Regions from separate parts of the Homo sapiens genome. Here region 1 is linked to region 2. The links are contacts of gene promoters, found by promoter capture Hi-C in blood cells and fetal thymus (Javierre and others, 2016). All regions are on one chromosome and are shown on one strand. Each heading gives the region's core, a stretch centred on a gene start or on the middle of the fragment in contact. The rest is flanking DNA. Distances are from core to core; before and after follow the strand shown. Region 1 holds the start of CD300LD (CD300 molecule like family member d). Region 2 holds the start of CD300C (CD300c molecule).

Evidence for each region. Contacts are between HindIII fragments. The CHiCAGO score rates a contact against its expected background, and 5 or more counts as called.
Region 1: a contact is called between a fragment that was not itself captured here and the fragment with the promoter of CD300C in region 2, in 1 of 17 cell types (monocytes). The highest score is 6.3, in monocytes.

What each region holds. Positions count from the first base shown.
Region 1 is chr17:74,587,461-74,593,834 of GRCh38, reverse strand. CD300LD (CD300 molecule like family member d) reads left to right here and starts at 1,552. Exons shown (of 4, transcript NM_001115152.2): 1 at 1,552-1,672; 2 at 4,986-5,324. The coding sequence starts at 1,633. It overlaps CD300LD-AS1 (CD300LD antisense RNA 1), which reads right to left. Exons shown (of 3, transcript NR_171003.1): 2 at 3,090-3,316; 3 at 1-1,851. RefSeq lists an enhancer at 1,519-1,648. The HindIII fragment of the contact is 379 bases long and covers 2,113-2,491 here.
Region 2 is chr17:74,543,395-74,550,385 of GRCh38, reverse strand. CD300C (CD300c molecule) reads left to right here and starts at 4,271. Exons shown (of 4, transcript NM_006678.5): 1 at 4,271-4,664; 2 at 5,439-5,777. The coding sequence starts at 4,604. It also overlaps a transcript of LOC107985074 not described here. The HindIII fragment of the contact is 25,491 bases long and covers 1-6,991 here.

The DNA of each region.
Region 1 (6,374 bases), core at 1,053-3,552, 45 kb before region 2:
GTTCCTTTTTGTGGCTGAATAGTATTCCATGGTGTATATGTACACCGCATTGTCTTTATCCACTCATTGCTTGATGGGCATTTAGGCTGGTTCCCTATGTTTTCAATCGCAAATTGTGCTGCTATAAACATGCGTGTACAAGTGTCTTTTTTGGAACTAGTTTTTTTGCCCAGGCTAGAGAGCAGTGGTGCAATCTGGGCTCACTGCAATCTCCACCTCCCAGGTTCAGGCGATTCTCCTGCCTCAGCCTCCTGAGTAGCTGGGATTACAGGCGTGTGCCACCACCTGGCTAATTTTTGTATTTTTAGTAGAGATGGGGTTTCTCCATGTTGGCCAGGCTGGTTTCGAACTCCTGACCTCAGGTGGTCTGTCCGCCTTGGCCTCCCAAAGTGCTGGATTACAGGCATGAGCCACCAGAGCTATTTTATATACTATTTACTCCTACATACTCTGAGGTCTCAGTTAGCTACACTTTATCTTGTTCTCAACTATGATTGGATAACCAAGAATCAGCAGACACTTGAGGAAGGCTCATAATATAGAAGAAGCAGACAACAAAACAAAGATGTGACCACTGAGTGGAGGGATATAGTTCAAGGAACAGAAGAGAGTTTGAAAACATCAGTAATCAAAGAACCAAAAAAACTTTTCGAAATAAAAATACAGTCTCTAAAATCAATATTTGATCCAAGGATTGGAAGGGAAAGTACAAGCATGAAATAAACAATATAAAAAGCTCCCCAAATGTAGAACAAAGCCCACAGATATGGAAAATATAAAACAGGAGAGAAAAAATGAATCGATTCAGGAGGGAAAGGGAGAGAAAGAGGGAAGGGACCATCTAAAGAAAGTGGGGAGAGACCGGGAAAGAAGTCAGTTCGGGCGTCAGCAGAACAAGTAGATTACAACAGCAGCCAGGGGAAAGTGTGCAGGGATAGGGAGGATGAAATCAGGGCAAGAGGAGGCTAACGAGAAAAGGCAATTTCTCCATTCCTGACCTTCCCCACTGAGCCCAGCTTTGGCTTCAGAGTGATTTCAGAGTGGCTTCAGAGTGACTCATGATCCCAGTGGAAGTGTTCCTGGGGGAAGGGGCAGTGGGTCAGACAGCCCAGGGCAGGAAGAGGCAATGAGATGTCTTACAGTGGGGCTGCCTGGAAGAAGCCTGGGGCATGGGCTTTCTCCAGCAAGGCTGGGTGTGAGTCCTGTGCACTGTGGTCTTCCCAAAGTGCTCCTCTCCCTGCACTCCTCATGGCTGGCCTTGTCCGTCCTCTCCTCCAGGCAGTAGATCCCGCAGCTCCTCAATGCTTGGGTTCCTCCTGGCTCCTCCTGCTCCTTGGCTCCTACGTGCACTCCCGTGCAAACCTGACCAGTCCCGGACACATTTTCTTTTCCACATGCACAAAAGTTTGGGCACACCTTGCAACATACACTGTACCTTAGTCTTTTCAAAGAATGACACCTCTTTTCTCCTAATATGTAAAAAGAGAAGTAGCTACAGATGTAACAGGAAGTGAGCAAGAGACTTGAAGGAGATTCGAGTAGGTTTGCGGTGTTGACTTCCGAGCTTGGATTCAAGTCCCTGAAGGGCACCAGACACCTGTGATCACCAAGGAGAGGAGAGGAGACAGGACCATGTGGCTGTCCCCATCTCTGCTGCTTCTCATCCTCCCAGGTGAGTGTGGCTGGAGCTTTAAGGCACTGGAATGACAGCGGCTGGCTTGGAGACAGAGACGCTCTGTTCTCAGGAAGGAGACATGTCAGGGAAAATGACAGCGCCAATTCATCCATCCATGCCCATATTCATTAAATAGCAATCAAGTTTTTGTTATCTGACAGGTTCTGTGTTAGATGCTGCAGAAACAAACACACACAAAACAAAACAAGTATAGCTTCTTGTTGGAACAGTGGTTCTCAACCCTGACTGTTCCATATAAACAGATGAATGAACAGATATCAATGAAGGAAGGAACTAATGAGTGAGTCCATTCTTGAAGAACTTTTTTTTTTTTTTTTTTTTGAGCTGGTGTCTCGCTCTGTCACCCAGGCTGGAGTGCTTCTTTCACTTAGCATGATGTTTCAAGGTTACTTTGTGTTGTAGCACAAATCAAAGCTTCATTCTTTTTCATGGCTGCATAGTATTTCACAGTGGATATACCACATTTGGTTTCTCCAGTCATTTGTCAATGAACCTTAGGGTTGTTTCTACCTTTTAAAAATTGTTAGTAATAATGTTATGAACTTTCATAGCACAGTTTTGTATGGAGATATGTTTTCAGTTCTCTTGGGTATATATCTAGGGGTAAAATGGCTGAATCCTATGTTAATTCTATGTTTAACTTTTTGAGGAAGCATCAAACCTTTTTCCCAAGGATTTATATTTGAGTACAGCTTTGGCTGTCATGTCAACAAATTTTGATACGTAGTGTTTTCATTTCTGTTAAAATGTAACAAATCTATGTGCTTCTCATATTATCTATACTCAGATCAAGCTTTGTAAGAAAATTTTTCCTTCCAATCTCAAATTTATTTTCTTTTAAAATAGATTATTATTATTATTATTATTATTTTTATTTTTTTTTTTTTTGTAGAGATGAGGACTCACTTTCATGCCCAGGCTGGTCTCAAACTCCTGGGCTCAAGTGATCCTCCCACTTTGGCCTCCCAAAGTGCTGGGATTATAGGTGTGAGCCACCATGCCTGGCTTCAAATTTATATTCTGTAAACAATTTTCAGATATATTCTCCTTCCTTTCCTTCCTTCTGAGACAGGGTGTGCTCTGTCACCCAATCTGGAGTACAGTGCTGGGATCAGGGTTCACTGCAGCCTTGACCTCCCAGGCTCAAGCCATCCTCCCACCTCAGCCTCCTGAGTGAGTAGCTGGGACTACAGGCATGTGGTGCGACACCCAGCTAATATTTATTTATTTATTTAGTCTCGCTATGTTGCCAGGGCTGCTCTCAAGCTCCAGGGCTCACGCGATTCTCCTGCCTCAGCCTCCCAAAGTTGTTATATTACAAGTGTGAGCTACCACACCCAGCTCTTATTTCTTATAAATAACTTCCAGATGTAGTTTTTCTTTAAATATTTACCTTAATTGTTGTCTTTCCATTCTGATGTAGAACTTTTTTCAGAGTGAACAAATGAAGCCCCTATACCCATCTTTCCCCAGGAGGTCGTGTGTAGTTTCTTAGTTCCCTTCAGATGCCATAGAAAGCAGATTTGGGCATGGAGTCCAATTTCTGTTCCAGGAATTCCTTGGGTTGTGGAGCTCTGCCTGTTTATGGTGAAATTGTCTTCCGCTCCCACCATGGTGACCCTGGTTTTTCAAGACATTCCAATGAAGTCTAAAGTTTTCATTCATCCAGGGGTAATAATAATAATAATAATAATAACAAACATAATATAGTAACATAGAGGTAGATGCCATTACTATTCCCACTTATAGAAAACGAAGTCACAGTGTATTAGTCCATTTTCACGCTGCTGATAAGGACATACCCGAGACTGAGTAAATTACACAGAAAAAGAGGTTTAATGGACTCACAGTTCCACATGACTGGGGAGGCCTCACAATCATGGTGGAAGGTGAAAGGCATGTATTATATGGCAGCAGGCAAGAGAGAGAATGAGAGCCAAGTGAAAGAGGTTTCCCATTATAAAACCATCAGCTCTCATGAGACTTATTCACTACCACGAGAACAATGTGGGGGAAACCGCCCCATGATTCAATTAACTCCCAACTGGTGCCCCCCACAACATGTGGAAATTATGGGAGCTACAATTCAAGATGAGATTTGGGTGAGGACACAGACAAACCGTATCACACAGAGAGGTTAATTTGCCCAGGTTCACAAAACTTATCAGTGGTAGAGCCAGGATTCAAACCCAAGCACTCTGGCACAGCCTGAGCTCTTACCCACGACCTTGGGTGTCTCTTGGCGTTTCAGAGACAACCTCTCTCCTGCCACAGGAATTGCCCCCAGGGCTTCTTCAAGTGCTCCAATGTGCTTCTAGTTCCATCTCAAGTTTATGCTGCACTAATCACAGCTATGGTTTATTGCCAGTGCATAAATCATCAAAATCAATCGTTTCTTTAGATGGGTCTCCCTTTAGGTCAGTTGAATTTAAAGAATTTCTGGCAAAGCTCTCACTTAAGGTATTTCCACTGTTTTGAATTGTTTTCAAGTGAAAGATTAGGCTGACAAGTTCATGGAGACTAGTCTTGTCCTGGATCAAATTGTTTGAAAAGTGGAGCTAATTAGGTATGCCCGTTCCTCACCCTTTAACTGACTTGAATCATGTCCATTATGTTTAGAGAAGAACTTATAAGATGCAGAAGGGTGTTGAATGGGTGCTGCTCTGTTTATACCTAACCTTTACTTGTGTTTATCTTAAAAGTTAGCTTTTCCTAGGAATTTTGGAAGTGGAATTTATAACACTGTATGGCGAAATGGAGATCTGTGTGATGTGGATCCCATAGCAGATAGAGACCAGTTGGCATCACTATTTGGTTGATTTCAAAGGGATTCATTCAGGGTGATTAACTACAGCAGAGCCACCAGAAACCATTAGAACCACTAGGAACAGCCAAGCATCAAGGCAGCAATCATTCTTCTGGAAAAGGGCCTTCTGCCATTTCCTCCCCATCAGACCAGTATAACACAAAGATGGTTGCCAAAGAGCATTCCTTGGAATATAAAGATTTGCTGGCCATAGGGAAAGAGAGAGGGGTGAACTGCAGGAAGCTATTATTGCTCAATGCCAACATTTGTGTTTCTTTGGGGATCTGCAGTTGTGCTCTTCAGTGATTTTCCTGGTGACTTTGACCCAGTGGAATTTTGAAGGACAAAGATTTGTCTTGAGGAAAATGTATTGCTTCCTTGACTGTTATAAGGCAGTTGGATTTGGCTGCTACTCCCAATGCACGAGGCTGTGGCCCTGCCCTTGGGGTGGGAGGTGACGACACATGAATTTGCGTTTTCCAGGTTACTCCATTGCCGCTAAAATCACTGGTCCAACAACAGTGAATGGCTCGGAGCAGGGCTCATTGACTGTGCAGTGTGCTTATGGCTCAGGCTGGGAGACCTACTTGAAGTGGCGGTGTCAAGGAGCTGATTGGAATTACTGTAACATCCTTGTTAAAACAAATGGATCAGAGCAGGAGGTAAAGAAGAATCGAGTTTCCATCAGGGACAATCAGAAAAACCACGTGTTCACCGTGACCATGGAGAATCTCAAAAGAGATGATGCTGACAGTTATTGGTGTGGGACTGAGAGACCTGGAATTGATCTTGGGGTCAAAGTTCAAGTGACCATTAACCCAGGTAAGAGGGAGTGTATATACGTGTGTGTCTCTCAGGTCCTGCTCTGTCCTGGTCCCTGAGGTCCCACTTGAGTAAATTAACTGTCACTCAGAGTGACCTGTGACAGAGGGTGTCTGAGTCCTGAGGTCTTGCTATGGTTTGAATATTTGTCCCTCCAAAACTCGTGTTGAAACTTAATCCCCAATGTGGCAGTATTGAGAGACAAGGCCTTTAAAAGGTGACTGGGTCATGGGGGCAGAGTTCCCATGAATGAATTAATCCATTCGTGGATTAAAGGATGAATGGGTTATCATGGGAATGGAACTGCTTTATAAGAAAAGGCAGACAGACCTGACTTAGCATACTCAGTTCCGCCACCACGAGGTGCCTGGAGCCACCTTGGGACTCTGCAGAGAGTCCCTGCCATCAAGAAGGCCCTCACAAGATGTGGCTCCTCAACCTCGGACATCTTAGCCTCCATAACTGTAAGAAACAAATTCCTTTTCCTTATAAATGACTCAATTCCAGATATTCTGTTATAAGCAAGAAAAAGTAGACTAAGACAGGTCTCATAGGACCCTGAAGGACCGCTTGGGATTGAGGGGATCTCTTAATGACCCCATGGCTCCCAGGGCTCCCTCCAGGATGGGATTAAGTCTTTCTAGGCACATTTTTTTTTTCTCTGCACAGCTCAGTGCCTGAGTCTGTTGCCCACAGATGACAGGGTGATGGTTCCAGTTTCAGCCCACAGGCCAAAGGGACCCCCTTCCCTGGTAACCAGAGACCCCAATCCCTGCCAGTGCCTTCTTGGAACTTCTTTATAGCACTAAGTCCCTGTATCAGAAAAGGAGAAGGGCCTCAAGTCAATGGCCTTAGCTCAAGATACTAGGGAAAAAAAAGATCAAAGTAAACTCAAAGCAAACATCAGAACACAGATAATATTAAGACCACAATGAAAAATTAATGAAATCGAAAACAAAAGTAATAGGGAAAAATCAATGAAATGAGATATGTTTTCTGTGAAAACATCAGAAACACTGTTAAACCTCTACCTAGACTGATCAGGAAAAA
Region 2 (6,991 bases), core at 3,022-5,521:
ATACAGCGAAGTTTGATGACTGCTGGGAAGAGATATTTGTGCCTTGGGTTTGGGGAGCATGTGTGTGGGTGTTGGAGTCGCTATTTCACTGACAATGATCAGAAGAGGGTTTGTGGATTAGAGGACATGAGCGTGGAGACCTGCAGGATTTGGGAGCAGGGCGCTCTGGGGTCTGGGGGAAGAGGGGTCCAGGCAGAGGGAGGAGTGAGGCAAATGTCCTGCAAGGGAGTCCTGGGACCCGGCCAGGCCAGGGCAGGGGGCAGATGTTTTGGTGCCCGGTGACCCCGGCCCTCTCCCCTGGCCTCCCTTGCAGCCCTGGCCCGAGTCTCATCCTGTTTGATGAGCCCAGTCCTCTGAGGAGCTGAGAGCTGAGCTGGGCCATTCATTCATTCCTTCCATTCCTTCAACAACCATGAATTTTACAGGCTGATATTTGCAACCAGAGGGCAGGTACCAGTTACTTGTGAATAACATGAATAGTCCTCACCTTCTCGGGAAATGATGGCCATACAGGCATCAAACTACATGACTGATTCCATGCGCCAGTGAATAACCCCGGGATGTAGAGATCTTGTGGGTGTGGTTCTCACCTGGATCCCTCCCTGTCCTCATGCACCATTTTCACGGCCACGTGCTTCCTTATAGGCAGTCCTGAGACTCCAGGGACTCTCAGGCTGAAGGTCAGGGTCTAATGATCTCTTTAGAGGAGTTGTCATATACAGAGTTTGTCCTCACAGGGATTTGTGTGGCCACAGGACCTGGGTTCACAGACAGGCAGAAGGTGGAGGGCACCTGGGCTTCCCCTGGGGAGATGACTCACTGCCATCACCGTGTCCCCACAGCTCCCTGTTCAGCAGCCCCTACGTCCTGCTCCTGGTCCTGGAGCTGCCCCTGCTCCTGAGCATGCTGGGTGCCGTCGTCTGGGTGAACGGACCTCAGAGAAGCTCTGGAAGCAGGCAGAGTTGGCCAGAGGGTGAGAACCAGTAGCATCTACTGTCCATCAAGGCCCTGCACTGCGACAGAACCCCTTTGCGGGACTGGAATGACCTCCTGACCACTCCCTCCCGGGCTGCTCTCTCCACATCTCCTGGAATTCTCTGTGAGCCTCCTTCAGCCTTTTCCCTGTGCCTGATCCATGAATCACACGTGAACCTGATGGACACAGACGCCCTGAGCTGTGACTCCATGTCTCATGTGCACGCCCTGGCCAGCTGAACCTCGAGCTGTCACCAACACCTCTAAGTGCCTGATGCCCTCTCTGCACCTTTCCATTTCTCCAGGAGCTTGGCATTGCTTCCTTCAACGTTTTCACAGGGAGGAGCAGGTCCAGGACTCCCCTGCACCTTTGCCACCATAATGGCCCACACTCCCCGGGTCCAGGAGTGCAGAATATGTGGCTGCTTCCATTTGCTGAGTGTGTCAATTCAATGATGCTTTCGAACTTTAAGAAATGACAATACATAGATTCTGGACCTATCATGCCCACTAAGTCAGACCTGGGTGAAAACTCCATTGTTCCCTGATCTCCACAGGCCTTTGCTCAGAATAGTGGACTAAGCCCCAGGCTGGGCCTCTCAGGACTGGGGTCCCTGCAGAAGAGGATCCAGGATTCCCCCCAAAACCTGACAATTCCGTTCCTTATGTAGACACATCCTGGCCAGTGTCTTCTGGTCCCTGCGGGAGGGCTGGTAGAAGATTATCAGTGTGAGTTGTGGCATGGTAGCCAGGCCTTTCCTTCCTCCTTCCTCAAGGGGACCTGACCTCCCCTTCATTCCAGGGCTGTGGCTTTTAACTGACTCAAATATGGAAATTGGTTGAGGGCCGTGACTTCTTAATGTGGTAGTTAACTGAGTCTTTTGCTTACTAGTGCAGACCATGTCTGCTTATCCAGACAAAGGAAGACGTTATCAGCTGACCATCGTTTCGGTTCCAGGGATGCCACACCCAAGACCCCTGTGAGGCAGATGATCCCCATGAGTCCACCAGGTCAAGGAGGGACACGCCTGGGGGTCCTCACCTATTTTTACATTCAGCAGATACTTATGGGAGCTTCTGGTGTATCAGACACTGACCTGGCATTGGAGTCCAGCCGTGAACACCCAGGCAAGGAGCTCTGTTTTCATTGAGCTCATATTCCAGGCGGGGGATAGAAATGATAAACAGATGCAAAAATACGTGCATAAATTCCAGAAGAAATATAAAAGTCAGAGATGAAAAGAGTCACGGAATGAAATAAGAGAAGTGGGGTGACTGCTGTGCAGGAGCTGAGGGGGACTGTGGTGAAGCCCCTCTAATAGGCGCTGAGCAAGCAGGGATCAGGAGAAAGGAGGGGGTGAGCGCCAGGATCCCTGGAGGAGGAGCCCTGAGGCAGAGAGAGGAGCAGGTGCACATGTCCTGCCAGGGGCAGATGCCTCCCTGGGTCAGGTGGCTTCAGGGCCTCCAGACAGCATTTCCTGTCTCCTCCCCAGCCTGGGCAGGAAATGGTGCACCAACTTTGGATGACTAAGTCCTCTGAGGCAGTGGGACATCAGGATGTCATGTATCCATTCACCCATTCATCCTTTCAACAGCCAGTTTGTTAAACTGCACTTGGCAGACTCTGGAATGATAACGGGCACAGCTGTGAATGAGACAAGAGGCTGCACCTGCTCTCAAGGGGCGGCCACCCTAGATGGGAGCAGACATTGACTCGCCAACAGAAAGACTGAGGAAGACGAGAGGGAAGTGTGAAATGGGTCATGAGGACCCCTAAAAAGCGAGCCACCATAACCCGGGAAGGTCAAGGAACACGCAGGCAACCCTGTCGGCTGGAGCCAGGCAGAGGAGTGGGAGGTTGAGGGTCTGGACAAAGGCCCGAGTGGGGAGGGTGGCAGCACCAGTGTGAACCTGGATCCAGGAGGCTGGAGACACCTACCAGGTGCTGGGGCCTGCCAGGACCTGTGTGCAGAGGCCAGGTCAGGTGGGTGCCATCCTGTGACAGCAGGAGCCATTGGGAGTTCAGCAGCGCCTCCCCAGGGCCATGTGTGTGTGTCAGGGATCACATTGCTGATTCTGTGGAGAATGAAAGGGGTGGGTATGAGCAGAAGGGGAGACCAGGTCAGCCCATGAAAGAGCCGGGATACTTCAAAGCCAGGCCCAGGCCAGACCTGAGCACTGGGCTAATTGGAGGCCCTGGGATTGCACTGGGCTAGAGATAGTCCCATGATGTGAGTCTGGGGGCATCAACACCAATGACCCCAGTGCATGCTGTGTCCCTGAGAGTGTAAATGGAGGGAGGACAGGGCAGGTCGAGGGTGCAGAGACCCCTTCATGGTGCCAGGTTTGCCCAGACTCCCATCACTCTCCACTCAACCTCATGGCTGTGTGCACATACTGGTGCTATTGACTCTGATAGGAAGAAAGGAACAGAAATCTGTAGGAGGGTTGGGAGAGTCAAGGAATATGCTTAAGGCATGAGAAGGTGGAGAAGGGGTGATGCCCTCCAGGACAGACAGGAGGTAAATCCTGTGTCTGACTAGCCTCCTTGCCCTTTCCAGGGTAAAGACACCCTGAGCCCATCACGTCAGGAGAACCAGCCATGCCGAGTGTGGATAGACCTGGGTTCCCGCCTCCTGGGAAGGCCTGTCTGCCATGTCTGCTCCCTGCGGAGGCCCCTGGCCATCACAGTGGACCCAGGATAGACACCAGCAGCCGCTGCTCATGACAAACTGTCCTCTCAGTCACCAAACACCCCTCCGTGTGCCCTGGGGTGTGTGCTGGCTCAGTCGCAGCCTCACATCCTCCACAAAGTCCCACTTCAGCATCTTCACATGTCTGAACTCTCTCTCTATTCTCAGTTCTCTGCCCTGATTCCCACTGGGGCATGGATTTTGGCAAGAAGACAAGATGGAAAAGGAGGGTCTCGGGTGGGTGATGCCGCTGTGTGTGTAGGTCTGGGGGCAGGGGCACAAGAGGAAAACTCCCCAAGCCTGTGGGATTTTAACCTGGTTGGGGACTCAGCACCAAAAAGGGACATGCAGATGGTGTCTGGGTTCATAGCGCTAACTTCTGAGGCCAGAAGAAGAGCTGGGGGTCTTAGGGGCAGAGGTCTCTGCGGGGACCTAGCTGAAGATTAAGGGACACAACCTCTCTCTGGTCACCTCCAAGGCTAAAGAAGGTGGCAGATTTAGCCTCCAACCACAAGATTGTCCATCCTGACCAGGAAGTGACATGTCACAGAGGGTGGAGCAGCCCATGTGGTAGGAAATGGCCCAGCTTGGCTCTGCCTTCTGCAGTGTGAGTAACACACTGAAGCCAGAAGCTGTGGGCTGTGGGGAAGTGGCTGCATCGCCACCCAAGGGACCCTGGACTTTGCCAGACGTCAGGGTTGAGAGGAGCCACTAGCACCATCCCAGAGCTGTCAGCACCGGCCTCAGCCCAGGCGGCTCTCTCCCTGAGCTTCCTGTACCCTGACCCTCTCCAGCCTCAGACCTGAGACAGGGCTGGACAAGGAAGCAGAGAGCAGAAGAAAAGCAGAAGCGAAGCTCAGATCTGCTGGGAGGAGATTACATTTTGTCCCCTCCTGGGGTCTTGCACAGTGGCAGGTGACATTCGTGTTACAGGAATGACTGCCAGGGCCTGGGCCTCGTGGCGGTCTTCAGCTCTGCTCCTCCTGCTTGTCCCAGGTGAGTGGGCCGACCCTGGACTTGGGGAGCTCTGTCCTGAGTGGGAGAGGGCAGGGAGGGGTGCAGGCGCTGGAGTAGCGGTCATAGAGGGGAGTGGGGCAGGGAGAGGGGAGGAGGGCAAAGGAGCACCCAGGAGCGGTCAGCAGCTGCCTCACCAGGGGACAGCAGGCGGCAGGGCACAGCACGGGGGAGGCCTATTCCTCTGTGCCCGAGACAGGAAGCCCTGGTGGGAGGTGATGCTGTGACTGTCATTGCCAAAGTTATCCAATCACAAATTTTATCTGGGACGATCACACACACAGTCACACTCACACGCACACACGGTCACACTCACACAGTCTCACACACATGCACACACAGTCACACTCACACAGTCTCACACACACATGCACACAGTCACACATGCACACACAGTCACACTCACATGCACACACAGTCACACATGCACACACAGTCACACACAGTCACACTCACACAGACAGTCACACTCACACAGTCACACACACAGAGTCACACTCACATGCACACACAGGCCCGCACACACCCAGTGTTTCCCTAGCCTTGCCTTTCCAGTCTCCATGGAAACTTCCCATGCCCTTCCCACCTCTGCACAGAGGGAGCCTCCCACCCTCAGTCCCTGTTCCTGGGTGGACAAAGGCTGCCTGCCTGCCATTGCCTTCTCCACACGCCCAGGGTCCATGAGGGGCTGACACTGCGGCACCCCTGACCAGGCCCCTCTGGTAAGGAGACAGGATTTTGGCTTGTATTTTTCAGGCTATTTTCCTCTGAGCCACCCCATGACCGTGGCGGGCCCCGTGGGGGGATCCCTGAGTGTGCAGTGTCGCTATGAGAAGGAACACAGGACCCTCAACAAATTCTGGTGCAGACCACCACAGATTCTCCGATGTGACAAGATTGTGGAGACCAAAGGGTCAGCAGGGAAAAGGAATGGCCGAGTGTCCATCAGGGACAGTCCTGCAAACCTCAGCTTCACAGTGACCCTGGAGAATCTCACAGAGGAGGACGCAGGCACCTACTGGTGTGGGGTGGATACACCGTGGCTCCGAGACTTTCATGATCCCATTGTCGAGGTTGAGGTGTCCGTGTTCCCGGGTGAGCCCCTCCTTTTCTCAGCACCAGGCCTGCCTGAGCCTAGGGCTGGTCATTCTGTCCCTGAAGAAAGAAGTGGAACAGGAGGGTGTGAGCCTGGGGGTTGGTGAGTCAGGACACTGTGTGCCGCTGTGTGTGGATGAGTGTGAGTGCGTCTTTGTGTATGCGTGCCTGCATAGGAGTTGTGGTGTGGTTTGTGTGTGTGTGCACCTGCATGTGTGTGTTGGGAGGGTGGGCGCCCACAAAAGCACCCTGGCCCTGTGGCTGGAGACCCCCCGCTGTGGGCCCTCCCTCACGGCCTCAGGCCTGAAACTTTCCTGGGTGGGGTCTGTGAGGCCACCCCTGACTCTGGGGTCCTTGCTACCTCCCTGTATTGACAAGGGCCGGATCCATACTGAAGGGTGCCCACTGTCCCGCCTGGGTCTAACTCGCTCTTCCCCACGGGGAATTGGACCCCCCCATCATTGGCTCCTCTCACTCAAGGCTGCCCCTGCCCTGGGGCCTGCATGGATGCCGCCCTGTCTGGAGGGTCCTGAGGCCGCAGCCTCACAGCCCTGTCCTGGGAGCTCCTGCAGCAGCCACTGGAGGACACAGGAAGGAGCCCCAGAGCCCTGGGTGGGGTTCTCATGCTCCTGGGAACCACATCCTGCCCCTGAGGCTGACCTGTGTGTCCCCCTTATTCTCTGGCACCTTTTACCACAGGAGGGAACCCCAGAAATTGCCCCCTCAGGCAAAGGGACCTGTGGATGGAAATGAGCTGAGACTGGCACGGACCTGAGGGCCCTTTCCCGTGCCGAAGATCATTCTTCCCTCAAAGGCCCCCTCCTGTCTCACAAGACACAAACCCAGTGGCCTCAGTGTGGTTGCTTTTCCATCGTTTTCTTCTGACAATGTCCCAGGTTCCTCGGAGCATCTTCTTGTTCTCCATTTCCCCGGGGGCGACGTGTCCCTCCTGCGCCCTTTGTGCCTTCCTATCTAGGAGTGAGGAGCTAAGATCCCACCTGAGGGCGCCAGGGAGAGGAGGAAAGGGCCCTTATCCAGCTGTATTCACCACGGGCCGCCGCCCAGGCTTCACCGGGCATCCCCTCTCTAGATCTTTCTTCCTGGGCATTCCCTCCTGCTGAGAGGATGGTCCAATGGCCTTGTGGGGCCGCAGCATGGCTGCCATTTGGGGCTGAGTGGACTCGGGTCCCATCGTTCAGGGAGGACCCCACTGA